2 separate regions of the Homo sapiens genome follow, and region 2 is linked to region 1. Evidence: promoter capture Hi-C in 16 types of primary human blood cells and fetal thymus (Javierre and others, 2016). All regions are on one chromosome and are shown on one strand. Each heading gives the region's core, a stretch centred on a gene start or on the middle of the fragment in contact. The rest is flanking DNA. Distances are from core to core; before and after follow the strand shown.

What was found. Contacts are between HindIII fragments. The CHiCAGO score rates a contact against its expected background, and 5 or more counts as called.
Region 2: a fragment that was not itself captured here is called in contact with the fragment with the promoter of CCDC32 in region 1 in 1 of 17 cell types (M2 macrophages); the score reaches 6.2 in M2 macrophages.

What each region holds. Positions count from the first base shown.
Region 1 is chr15:40,562,180-40,568,272 of GRCh38, reverse strand. CCDC32 (coiled-coil domain containing 32) reads left to right here and starts at 3,231. Exons shown (of 4, transcript NM_001080792.4): 1 at 3,231-3,297; 2 at 5,246-5,501. The coding sequence starts at 5,258. RefSeq lists a silencer at 877-1,056 and enhancers at 2,009-2,303, 2,783-2,832. The HindIII fragment of the contact is 7,257 bases long and covers 2,801-6,093 here.
Region 2 is chr15:41,166,521-41,172,613 of GRCh38, reverse strand. No RefSeq gene overlaps it. Among named protein-coding and RNA genes, the nearest start is that of INO80, 53 kb to the right of the region's middle. The HindIII fragment of the contact is 1,061 bases long and covers 1,774-2,834 here.

The DNA of each region.
Region 1 (6,093 bases), core at 1,982-4,481:
CTCTGTCGCCCAGGCTGGAGTGCAGTGGAGCGATTTCACCTCACTGCAACCTCCGCCTCCTGAGTTCAAGCCATTCTTCTGCCTCAGCCTCCTGAGTGGCTGGGACTACAGGCACGCACCACCACGCCTGGCTAATTTTTATATTATGAGTGCTGGGATTACAGGCGTAAGCCACCGCGCCCGGCCAAGAATCTAACCCTCTTTGGTATCCAGAGTGGGATTCTTCCAAATAAGGAGGCATTTCAATGTTAGTTTGCCAAAAAAAAAAAAAAAAAAAAGACAGTCTAATTCTTATCCTAGGCATTTGTATTCTGGAGAGGAGAAAGGGAAATCTTTTTTAGCTAAATTCCTTCTTCAAGTCATTAGTCTCACCAAACTAACTGAGGGACTGCAGCTGAGGTATCCACAGCTGCAGAACTCCATATGCTGAAAAGTCTGATTCCTGACTACCTCCAGAAATAAGAGGTAGAATTCTCCATTGATTGTGGGGTATGTTAGAACCAAACTACTTCACAGGAGGGACATCATCTCTCAAGTGCATCATTTCATTAAGATATTTACAGTGAAAGCAGAACCTTATCCAAAAGAAAAGTATGTATTCTTAGCTAGCCTCTTTGCTCCATAGGATTGGGGTGGGAGAATTAAATTAGTTAATTCAAGTAAAATACTTGGACTAGTGCCTGGCAAAACTGTGGAGACAGAAAACATAGCAGAATCTTGTTCCTCCTCCCCTTCTGACCTACTAAATGAGAATCTGCACTTTAACATGATCCTCAGGTGATTTTTCTGCATATTAAAGCTTGAGAAGCACTGGCATAGACCATGTAGAGTAGACATTTGTCATATTCTGTAAACATCCAGCATCTTCCGAACACCCTTCTTTTGGGTGGGGAATTTCTCACATTTCATTACTGCCCCCAAAAGGTAGAAGCCAGAGCCTTCCCACACTCTCTTGCAGCTTGGACATAGGCATTTGACCTGGGCTCTATCTCTTAGACAGAGGCTTTGGTTCAGAGGCACACAGCCGCGGAAGCAGGCTCAGTGTGAAATCCGTGTCTAACAAGGTAGCATTGGAGGCATCTAATCTGGGAGGCCAACAGTCGGGGAGGTTCTTGTGTCAAGTACCCAATCGACGAATAATGCCAGCTATAGATGTTCAGTGGCTGTGGGGTGTTCCCTGAGCAGTCTCTCAGTGAGATTCAGATACTGTCCCTGGCTGTATAGACCTAAAGCCTGACTCTCCACTCACCTTGAGGTTCTGTGAACTATGTAATATTCTCCAATCCTGTGCTATACAATAGGATCACCATTAGCCATGTGCTGTACAATAGCCACATGTGGCTAATTAAATTTAAATTAATTAAAATTTTAACAAGTTTTGAAACAAGATCTCACTCCCATCACCCAGGCTGGAGTGCAGTGGCACGATTTTGGCTCACTGCAGCCTTGACTTCCCAAACTGAAGTGATCCTCCCACCTCAGGCTCCCTAGTAGCTGAGACGACAGACATGTGCCACCATGACTGGCTAATTTTTTGTATTTTTAGTAGAGACGAGGTTTTGCCACATTGCCTAGGGTGGTCTCAAACTGGGCTCAAACAATCCATCCACCTTGGCCTCCCAAAGTGTTAGGATTACAGGCCGGATGTGGTGGCGCAACCTCCGCCTCCTGGGTTCAAGTAGTTCTCCTACCTCAGCCTCCTGAGTAGCTGGGATTACAGGCATGCGCCTCCACGCCCAGTTAATTTTTGTATTTTTAGTAGAAACAGGGTTTCACCATGTTGGCCAGGCTGGTCTCGAACTGCTGATCTCAGGTGATCCACACCCCCTCAGCCTCCCAAAATTCTGGGATTACAGGCATGAGCCACCAAGCCCGGCCAGGAACTGAATTTTAAATTGTATTTTAGCTGGGCGCAGTGGCTCACATCTGTAATCCTAAAACTATGTTGTTTTTGTTGTTGTTGTTTTCTTTTTCTTTCTTTCTTTTTTTTTTTGAGACGGAGTCTTGCTCTGTCACCCAGGCTGGAGTGAGAACTATTTCCTCAGCCAAGTTACTTGGCTACTGATGGTTGGCTGATGTCTTTCATCACGTGTTTCTTGGGAGAGAGTAACTGGTGTTGATCCTGGAAGCTGGGGATGGGGAGGGGTCGATCTCAATGAACAAGCTGGTATCTATCCCCTGAAGGATATCAAAGGTCATCTCCTTTAACAACTACAACAACAAAGCATTCTGACACACACTTCTTATGACCACTCTCTCCTTTATGTACTCTGGCCACACTTCCATCATATACTCTATAATCCTCAACGCCCCCCTCCTTTTTTTTTTTTGAGACAGTCTTGCTCTGTTGCCCAGGTTGGAATGCAGTGGTGCGATCTTGTCTCACTGCAACCTCTGCCTTCCCGGTTCAAGCGATTCTCCTGCCTGAGCCTCCCGAATAGCTAGGATTCCAGGCATGTGCCACCATGCTCAGCTAATTTTTGTACTTTTAGTAGAGACAGAGTTTCACCATGTTTCACCCAGGCTGGTCTCGAACTCCTGACCTCAGGTGATCCACCTGCCTCGGCCTCCTAGAGTACTGGGATTACAGGCGTGAGTCACCGCGCCCGGCTGTCTATCACTGTTTACTGTTATTTGTAAACTTTTATGCCTCCATGGCGGACCCCCTTCCTACACTACTAAGCTGTAAGGATCTCCAGGACTTATATCAAGTCATATGTGTCTTAACTTCACGCTTAACACAATGCTTAGAACACAGCAGGTGCTTGGTATCTATTGACTAAATGAATGAAGGAAAGCTTCATAATTTGATGAATGAGACACGAGTCTCCTGGGAGAGTAAGGAAAGAAGCCGCCGAAGTGCTCTAATTTGGGTAACGAAGGGGTGAAATTTTTAGAAGACAAACACCGACAGAGAAAGTTGTGGAGGAGGTGAACTGGCTCCGGCGACTAGGAAAAGTCAAAAGTCTTGGAAACGACTTCCCTATCCAAGCAGGGACTGGAACCCTGGATCTGCAAGGAATCAACCTGGCCCTCGGGAGGGGAGGGGCAATGCTCAGGGCACGTGACTCCACCGTTTCCCGGCAACCAGAGCCCCGTCCACCGCTCGCCTCTTGCTGCTCCTCACTTCTTCACCACGCTGAGCTCCTCTCGACCAATCGACGCACAGAACATCGTCGGGTGGGAAGGTAGTTGGAGGACTCCTGGGCTCCGTCACTAGGGGACTCCGCCCCTCCCGATTTCCTCCGGGCTACAGGCGACAGAGCTGAGCCAAGCGTTTACTGGGCAGCTGTTACGGTAAGTGAGGAGGGGCTGGGGTGCCCAGCGTTTTGGATCTCCCACTCTGGCCCGGCCCCGGAATACCACATAGAGGCCTTGGGACCTGATTCATCCCGTCCAGACAGCCCTAGAGACCTGAGCGACTGAGGCCTGGGATCTGGACGCCGGAATTTCCTGCGTGGTTCTGGACGCCCTGCCCTGGGGTAAGGGGCCATGCGGGGCTCTGGTGTGAGCAAAGTTTTGGTTTTGGGTGGCTTTAGACGAATTCGGGTTGGGGGTTCACTGTAGCGCTAGACATCAGTTCACCCAGGACCGCCGTGTCATAGCTGTCCCTTTTACTTCCGGCCTTTACGCTGGCTGGGCTCTGTCTCCTGGCATTATTCAGACCTTGCCTCAGGCAGCCTTCCTGATTTCTAAGTCTCCTCTTGAAAGAAGGTGTCAGCCTGTCTCATATGCCTAGATAGTTATAAAAGCCTCCAGGCTCTTTGCGTAGCTTTTCCTACCTGCCCGTGCTTGGGCTGCTTTCGTTATATTTTCCAAACAAGCAGGATGGTATTTGATAAAAACATGGATTCTGGAGCAGCACAGATCTGGTTTTCCTGTCAAGGATTCCCCACATATCAGTAATGTGCCCTAGAGCAAGTTACCCTTCTGAACTTGTTTTTTCATCTGTAAAATGGTGAAAATACCTACCTTTCAGTGATTGTATTAAAATAAGAGCATGAGACATACGGCTGAACTGCATGCGCTGAGCACACAGCCCTTGCATTGTAACAGTACTCTCTGACAGACACTTTTTACCAAGCAGGATCTTCATGTATATGGAACTGTGGAAAGACCTTTAGTCTGTGTTCTGTTGAAAACAGAATTTAGGGGCCGGGCGCGGTGGCTCACGCCTGTAATCCCAGCACTTTGGGAGGCCGAGGCGGGCGGATCACAAGATCAGGAGATCGAGACCACCCTGGCTAAACGGTGAAACCCCGTCTTTACTAAAAAATGCAAAAAATTAGCCGGGCGTGGTGGCGAGTGCCTGTAGTCCCAGCTATTTGGGAGGCTGAGGCAGGAGAATGGCGTGAACCCGGGAGGCGGAGGTTGCAGTGAGCCAAGTTAGCGCCACTGCACTCCAGCCTGGGCGACAGAGCGAGACTCTGTCTCAAAAAAAAAAAAGAAAGAAAGAAAGAAAAAAAAACAGAATTTAATTGACTGGAGATAGAACTGTTGCATTTTGGAGATCTTTGGAGAAAAGTGCAGGCTGGTTGTCCAACCTGGAAATGCCCTACAGATTTGTGTGTGTGTGTGTGTGTGTGTGTGTGTGTTAAAATATATGTAGCATAAAATTGACCATTTTAACTATTTTTGTGTGTATGATTCAGTGGTGTTCACATTGTTGTGCAACCATAACTACCATCCACCTCCAGAACTTTTTCATTTTCCCAAACTGAAACTGTGTACCCATTAAACAGTAATTCCCCATTCTTTCTACCTCCCAGCCCCCAGCTCCCACCATCCTATTTTCTGTATCTATGAATTTGACTACTCAGGTACCTTATATAAGTGGAATCACAGTATCTGCCTTTTGTGTATGGCTTGTAGGAATTCCATTTTTATTTTTATTTTATTTATTTATTTGTGAGACAGGGCCTCGCAATGTCACCCAGGCTGGAGTGCAATGGCGTGATCACCACTCACTGCAGCCTCTATCTCCTGGGCTAAGGTGATCCTCCTACCTCAGCCTCCGGAGTAGCTGGGACTACAGGCATGTGCCACCACACCTGTCTAATTTTTGTATTTTTAGTAGAGATGGGATTTTGCCATGTTTCCCAGGCTGGTCTCGAACTGCTGGCCTCAAATGATCTGACTGCCTCGGCTTCCCAAAGTGTTGGGATTACAGTCGTGAGCCACTGTGCTCAACCTTATGCTGTATTCTTAAAGCCAGTTCTTACTCACTTGAGCTTCTGTTTTATAGCTCAGATTCCAAATGAAAATGTTTGAGAGCGCTGACTCTACAGCCACAAGATCTGGCCAGGATCTCTGGGCTGAAATTTGTTCCTGTCTGCCAAATCCTGAACAAGAAGATGGTGCCAACAATGCATTCTCAGACTCCTTTGTGGATTCTTGCCCTGAAGGTGAAGGCCAGAGGGAGGTGGCTGACTTTGCTGTCCAGCCAGCTGTAAAGCCTTGGGCTCCCTTGCAGGATTCAGAAGTGTATTTAGCATCTCTAGGTAAGTTTGACGGCTCTAGGGAAGCATATTGAAGTTCTGTTACATCAAACTTGGTTTCCTATTCTTTTGTGTTGTTGTTATTCCTGTCACACGTATCTGTCAGATATAATTCCAAGGGATGTTTCAAGCCGGCTGTTGGGAAGCAGCCCCCTTTTCCTTGAACAGATCTTTTTTTATTTTTATTTTTAATTTTTTGAGACTTTCACTCTTGTTGCCCAGGCTGGAGTGCAGTGGCGTGATCTTAGCTCATGGCAACCTCCACCTCCCGGGTTCAAGCGATTTTCCTGCCTCAGCCTACCGAGTAGCTGGGATTACAGGCGCCTGGCACAATGCCCGGCTAATTTTTTGTATTTTTAGTAGAGATGGGGTTTCATTTCACCATGTTGGCTAGGCTGGTCTCGAATGCCTGACCTCAGGTGATCCACCTGCCTCGGCATCCCAAAGTGCTGGGATTACAGGCATGAGCCGCCGTGACTACCCGAACAGCTCTTAAAACAGTTTTTGTCACTTCCTGCCTCTGCCCAGTTCATCTAAATTCTGTGTTTGATTTCTTGGCATTCTGTAGAACCCTCTTGCCTACTGTTGGTTGCCC
Region 2 (6,093 bases), core at 1,055-3,554, 610 kb before region 1:
AATTTTTTTTTCTTTCGCCCAGGCCGGAGTGCAGTGGCCCAATCTGGTCTTACTACAACCTCTGCCTCCCAGGTTCAAGCGATTCTCCTGCCTCAATCTCCCAAGTAACTGGGATTACAGGCATCCACCACCACGCCTGGCTAATTTTTGTATTTTTATTAAGAGACGGTGTTTCACTGTGTTGGCCAGGCTTGAACTTCTGACCTCAGGTGATCTGCCCGCCTTGACCTCCCATAGTGCTGGGATTACAGGCGTGAGACACTGCACCTGGACAAAAAAGAAATTTTTGTTCCTCTTTTTCCCAAATGAACCAGAGTGTAAACTAGTAGATTTGGAAGAGTTGATCGAAGGCATTTAATTGCAATGCAAGCCAGAGAAACCAGAGGGCCAGTAACTTCAGCCTCTTGCTGTTGATCTCTCCATATTGCAATAGTAGCCTGTCTAATTAGGATGAGACACTTCCACATTCTGGAATTCTCCAATTCCCCAAGTACATTATTGTTTATAACTTGAAAGGCACCTGATGGCTAAACCCTGAGTATTTTAAATAAGAACTTTGTAATGGAAACAAATTCTAATGAAAACATTCCTTAGGAAGAGCCAAAATGGCAAGTTCCAGGAATGAGGGAATTAAGGGAAAGAAATTTTTTATTGTGTAACTTGTTGGGATGCCATTGAAATAGCAAAATCTTTATGTGGAGAAAAGGAAATTCCTCCTCAGCACTTCCTTCTGAGAAGGCCCACTTAAATGAAAAAATATATAAATGAAAATATTACATGTACGTCTAGTAGGTGTTCATACTTGCCTTTAAAATAGAGAACACTGGGCCGGGCACGGTGGCTCACGCCTATAATCTCAGCACTTTGGGAGGCTGAGGCGGGCGGATCACGAGGTCAGGAGATTGAGACCATCCTGGCTAACATGGTGAAACCCCGTCTCTACTAAAAATACAAAAAATTAGCCAGGCGTGGTGGCGGGCGCCTGTGGTCCCAGCTAATCGGGAGGCTGAGGCGGGAGAATGGCGTGAACCCGGGAGGCGGAGCTTGCAGTGAGCCGAGATCGCGCCACTGCACTCCAGCCTGGGCGACTGAGCAAGACTCCGTCTCAAAAACAACAACAAAAATAGAGAACACTGAGCCGTGGCCGTAAAGCTGCCTTATACAGTGTCCCACATGGTAAGCTTCATTTGTTTTTTTGTTTGTGTGTTTGTTTGTTTTTTGAGATGGAGTCTTGCTCTGTCACCCACGCTGGAGTGCAGTGGTGCGATCTGGGCTCTCTGCAACCTCTGCCTCCCAGGTTCAGGTGATTCTCCTGCCTCAGCCTCCTGAGTAGCTGGGATTACAGGCGCTCACCACCATGCCCAGCTAATTTTTATATTTTTAGTAGAGACGGGGTTTCACCATATTGGCCAGACTGGTCTCAAACTCCTGACCTCAAATGATCCACCCACCTTACCTTCCCAAAGTGCCGGGATTACAGGTGTGAGCTACCGCACCCGCAGGCTTCATTTGTTTTGTGCATTCGTTAGCAAACATTTTGGAGGGCCGTTTTGAAGCCAGGCACTGGACTAGATTGGGGAATCAGAGAAAAAAACACACAATCCCTACTCTCAAAGGACTTCGAGTCTAGTGGGCGATATGTACACAAAATTATAACCGAAATAATAGTTATGTTCAAGGTGTACTGGTGCATTGTACGCATGTTGGGAAAGGCAGAGTAGCCCTGGAAAGGAGATAGCACTTGTCCTGGAACTGAGATCCGTGTCAAAAGCTTTCTTCAGAGGAAAGGGTGCACTTTGAGTAAGAGAACTATGAGGATTTCACCATTGAAAGAGGGGAAAAAATACGGTATGATAGTGAGAGATAAGGCTAGGAAATAGACAAGGTCCATGTATCTGTTACAGTTTTTTGGTCATAAGCAAAACAACTGACTCGGTGTGTTAGTCCCTTCTCACACTGTTCTCACACTGCTATAAAGACATACCTGGGCTGGGTGCGGTGGATCACGCCTGTAATCTCAACACTTTGGGAGGGCAAGGTGGGCGGATCACCTGAGGTAAGGAGTTTGAGACCAGCCTGGCCAACATGGTGAAACCCTGTCTTTACTAAAAATACAAAAATTAGCCAGGCATGGTGGCACGCACCTGTAGTCACAGTTACTCAGGAGGCTGAGGCAGAAGAACTGCTTGAATCCAGGAGGCGGAGGTCGCAGTGAACTGAGATCACACCATGGCACTCCAGCCTGGGTGAAGGAGCAAGACTCCATCTCCAAAAAAAAAAAAAAAAAAAGATATACCTGAGACTAAGTAATTGGTTGCCTGAAGCCAATTAAATCTCTTTTCTCTATAAGTTATCATTATCAAATCATAATGCTTCAAACTAAATGTATTCTCTCTGTAAATGGCACCAACTTCCAAACAGATGCCCAAGTCAGAAACCCAGGAGCCAGCTAAGACTGTACGGGATTGTACAGGCTGTATAGACGTCTGTATCTTGGGAGGCCTCAGGAAACTTACAATCCTGGTGGAAAGCAAAGGGGACGCAAGCATGTCTTACATTGCTGGAGCAGGAGGAAGAGAGCAAAAGGGGAAGTGCTACACACTTTCAAAAAAACAGATCTTGGGAGAACTCTATCACAAGACAGCACTAGGCGGATGGTGCTAAACCATTAGAAACCACCCCATGATCCAGTCACCTCCCACCAGGCCCCACCTCCAACCCCTGAGTGGGGACACAGGGCCAAACTATATCACTTGGGTAATATAAACAAGAAGGGAATTTACTGGAAAGATGAGTGGCTCACAGAACTGACTAGAAGGCTAAAAAACTAAGCTTGGAAATAGGATAGAGGGCTATGGCAGAACTCTAGTTAGCAGGAACAACTCAACTGGCAGAGTGAGTGCCAGTTATGAACAAGGAAGTGAGATGATCGGAAATGTAGATTATATATATATATATATATAATTATTATTTTTTCTGAAACAGACTTTCGCTATTTTCGCCCAGACTGGAGTGCAGTGATGTGATCTCAGCTCACTGCAACCAGAAATGTAGATGATAGATCGTCCTGGTTTAAGCTGTAGGATGGATTGAAAAGGAGCAAGAATAATATGAGGAAGACTTGTATGAAAACTCTTGCATTGATTAAGGTGGAAGATGTGAATGCTTGAATTTGGGAGGGATACAGTGGGATACAGTTGGTAGGATGGAGAGGAATACACAAATACAGGATTTTAGGAAGCATAATGAACCAAATGACCAATTGAATATGGATGGTAAAGTGTGGAAAGGAGTCTTGGCTGGCTCCCAGGTTTCTGACTTGGGCATCTGTTTGGAAGTTGGTGCCATTTACAGAGAGAATATATTGAGAGGATAGTTTGCAGAACTGTGATTTGATAGTTGAATTTTACATGTTTCTCATTTAGAATACATTTGGAATTCCTACATGGATGTGTCTACTAGACAGTCAGATATATGTGAATATAGAGAAGGAGAAAGATCTGAGCTAGAGAGATTGGGAGATGTAAATGGCCCTTGAAGTGATGAGCATATACAGTATTTTCCAGGTTTGAGTATAGAGAGTAAGAGAAAAGGAATGAGAAAGATCACACTCCTAAAATAGGGCAAGGCTGGGCGCTGTGGCTGATGCCTGTAATCCCAGCACTTTGGGAGGCTGAGGTGGGTGGATCACCTGACGTCTGGAGTTTGAGACCAGCCTGACCAACACTAAGAAACCCTGTCTTTATACTAAAAATACAAAATTAGCTGGGTGTGGTGGTGCATGCCTGTAATCCCAGCTACTCAGGAGGCTGAGGCAGGAGAATCACTTGAACCCGGGAGGCGGAGGTTGTGGTGAGCTGAGATCTCGCCATTGCACTCCAGCCTGGGCAACAAGAGTAAAACTCCTTTTCAAAAAAAAAAAAAAAAGGTAAAAGCCCGGGTGTAGTGGCTCACGCCTGTAATCTCAGCACTTTGGGAGGCTGAGGTGGGCGGATTACGAGATCAGGAGATCAAGACCATCCTGGCGAACACAGTGAAACCCCATCTCTACTAAAAATACAAAAAGTTAGCCGGGTGTGGTGGGCACCTGTAGTCCCAGTTACTCGGGAGGCTGAGGCAGGAGAATGGCGTGAACCCAGGTGGCGGAGCTTGCAGTGAGCCGAGATTGCGCCACTGCACACTCCAGCCTGGGCGACGAGCGAGACTCCCTCTCAAAAAAAAAAAAAAGTAAACAGGAAGAGATACACACAGAGACCAAGAAGGAGAAGACAAATAGGAAGAAAATCAGAATAGTATTATGTAAACCAGAAACCTCATTTGTAGTTTGATGAACTCTCATTGTAAGTTATATCAACCACAAATTATTTTTAACGGTTTTACTAAGATATAATTTTTTTTTTTTTTGAGACAGAGTTTCACTCTTGTTGCCTAGCCTGGAGTGCAATGGCTTGATCTCAGATCACTACAACCTCCGCCTTCTGGGTTCAAGCGATTCTCCTGCCTCCTCCCAAGTAGCTGGGATTACAGGCATGCACCACCCCGCCTGGCTAATTTTGTATTTTTAGTAGAGCCAGGGTTTCACCATCTTGGTCAGGTTGGTCTTGAACTCCCGACCTCAGGTGATCCACCTGCCTTGGCCTCCCGAAGTGCTGGGATTACAGGCGTGAGCCACCGCGCCCGACTGATATAATTTTTTTTTTTTTGAGACAGTGTTTCACTCTATCACCCAGGATAGAGTGCAGTGGCGAAATCTTAGCTCACTGCAACCTCCACCCTCTGGGGTTAAGTGATCCTCCCACTTCAGTAGCTGGGACCACAGGCGTGCACCACCATACCCAGCTATTTTTTTGTATTTTTAGTAGAGACAGAGTCTCGCCATGTTGCCCAGGCTGGTCTCGAACTCTTGGACCCAAGCGAACTGCCCACCTTGGCCTCTTTTTCTTTCAAGTCAAATGATTTTGTTAGACTATGTTTTGGTGTTGGTCATTCTGGATCACCATTTTCAGATACAGTGTGATTTTTAAAATATGCTGTATAGTTTTTTGTTTGTTTTTTAGAGATGGGGTTCTTATTATACTGCCAAGGCTAGACTCCAACTCCTGGCCTCAAGTGATCCTCCCAAAGTGCTGGGATTACAGGCATGAGACGCCCTGCCCGGCCATCTTACATAATATTCTTAATGCATTTTAGCTTTTTATGCACCAATATATTAGAGTGTTCATCTATTTATTTTTTATTTTTTTTATTTTGAGACACTCTCACTCTGTCACCCAGGCTGGAGTGCAGTGACATAATCACTGCTCACTGCAGTCTTGACTTCCTGGGCTCAAGCAATCTTCCCACCTGAGCCTCCCAAGTAGCTAGGACTAGAGGCATGTGCCACCATGCCCAGCTAGTTTTCAAAAAAAAATTTGGGGCTGGGCGCAGTGTCTCACACCTGTAATCCCAGCACTTTGGGAGGCCGAGGCAGGCGGATCACAAGGTCAGGAGTTCGAGACCAGCCTGGCCAGTATGGTGAAACTTCATCTCTACTAAAAATACAAAAATTAGCCAGGCACTGTAGCATGCGCCTGTAGTCCCAGCTACTCAGGAGGCTGAGGCAGAAGAATCGCTTGAACTCGGGAGGCGGAGGTTGCAGTGAGCCGAGATCACGCCATTCCATTGCAGCCTGGGTGATAGAGCAAGACTCCATCTCAAAAAAAAAAAAAAAAGGGGTTTCTTTGGGCCAGGCATGGTGACACATGCCTGTAATCCCAGCTACTGGGGAGGTGAGGCAGGAGAATCACTTGAACCCAGAGGTGGAGGTTGCAGTGAGCTGAGATCACGCCACTGCACTCCAGCCTGGGTGAAAGAATTAGACTTCGTCTCAAAAAAAAATTTTTTTGGCGGGGGCAGACAGGTTCCCACTATGTTGTCCAGGCGGTCTAGAACTCCTGGCTTCAATCAGTTTTCCTGCCTTGGCTCCCCAAAGTGCTGGCATTACAGGTGTGAGCCACCACATCAGGCTAGGCTCAATTAATTTTTTAACTTCACAGAGCTTCCTATTTTGTTGTTTTTGTGTAGTGTTAAAATCACAGTTATTTGCTTTCTGAG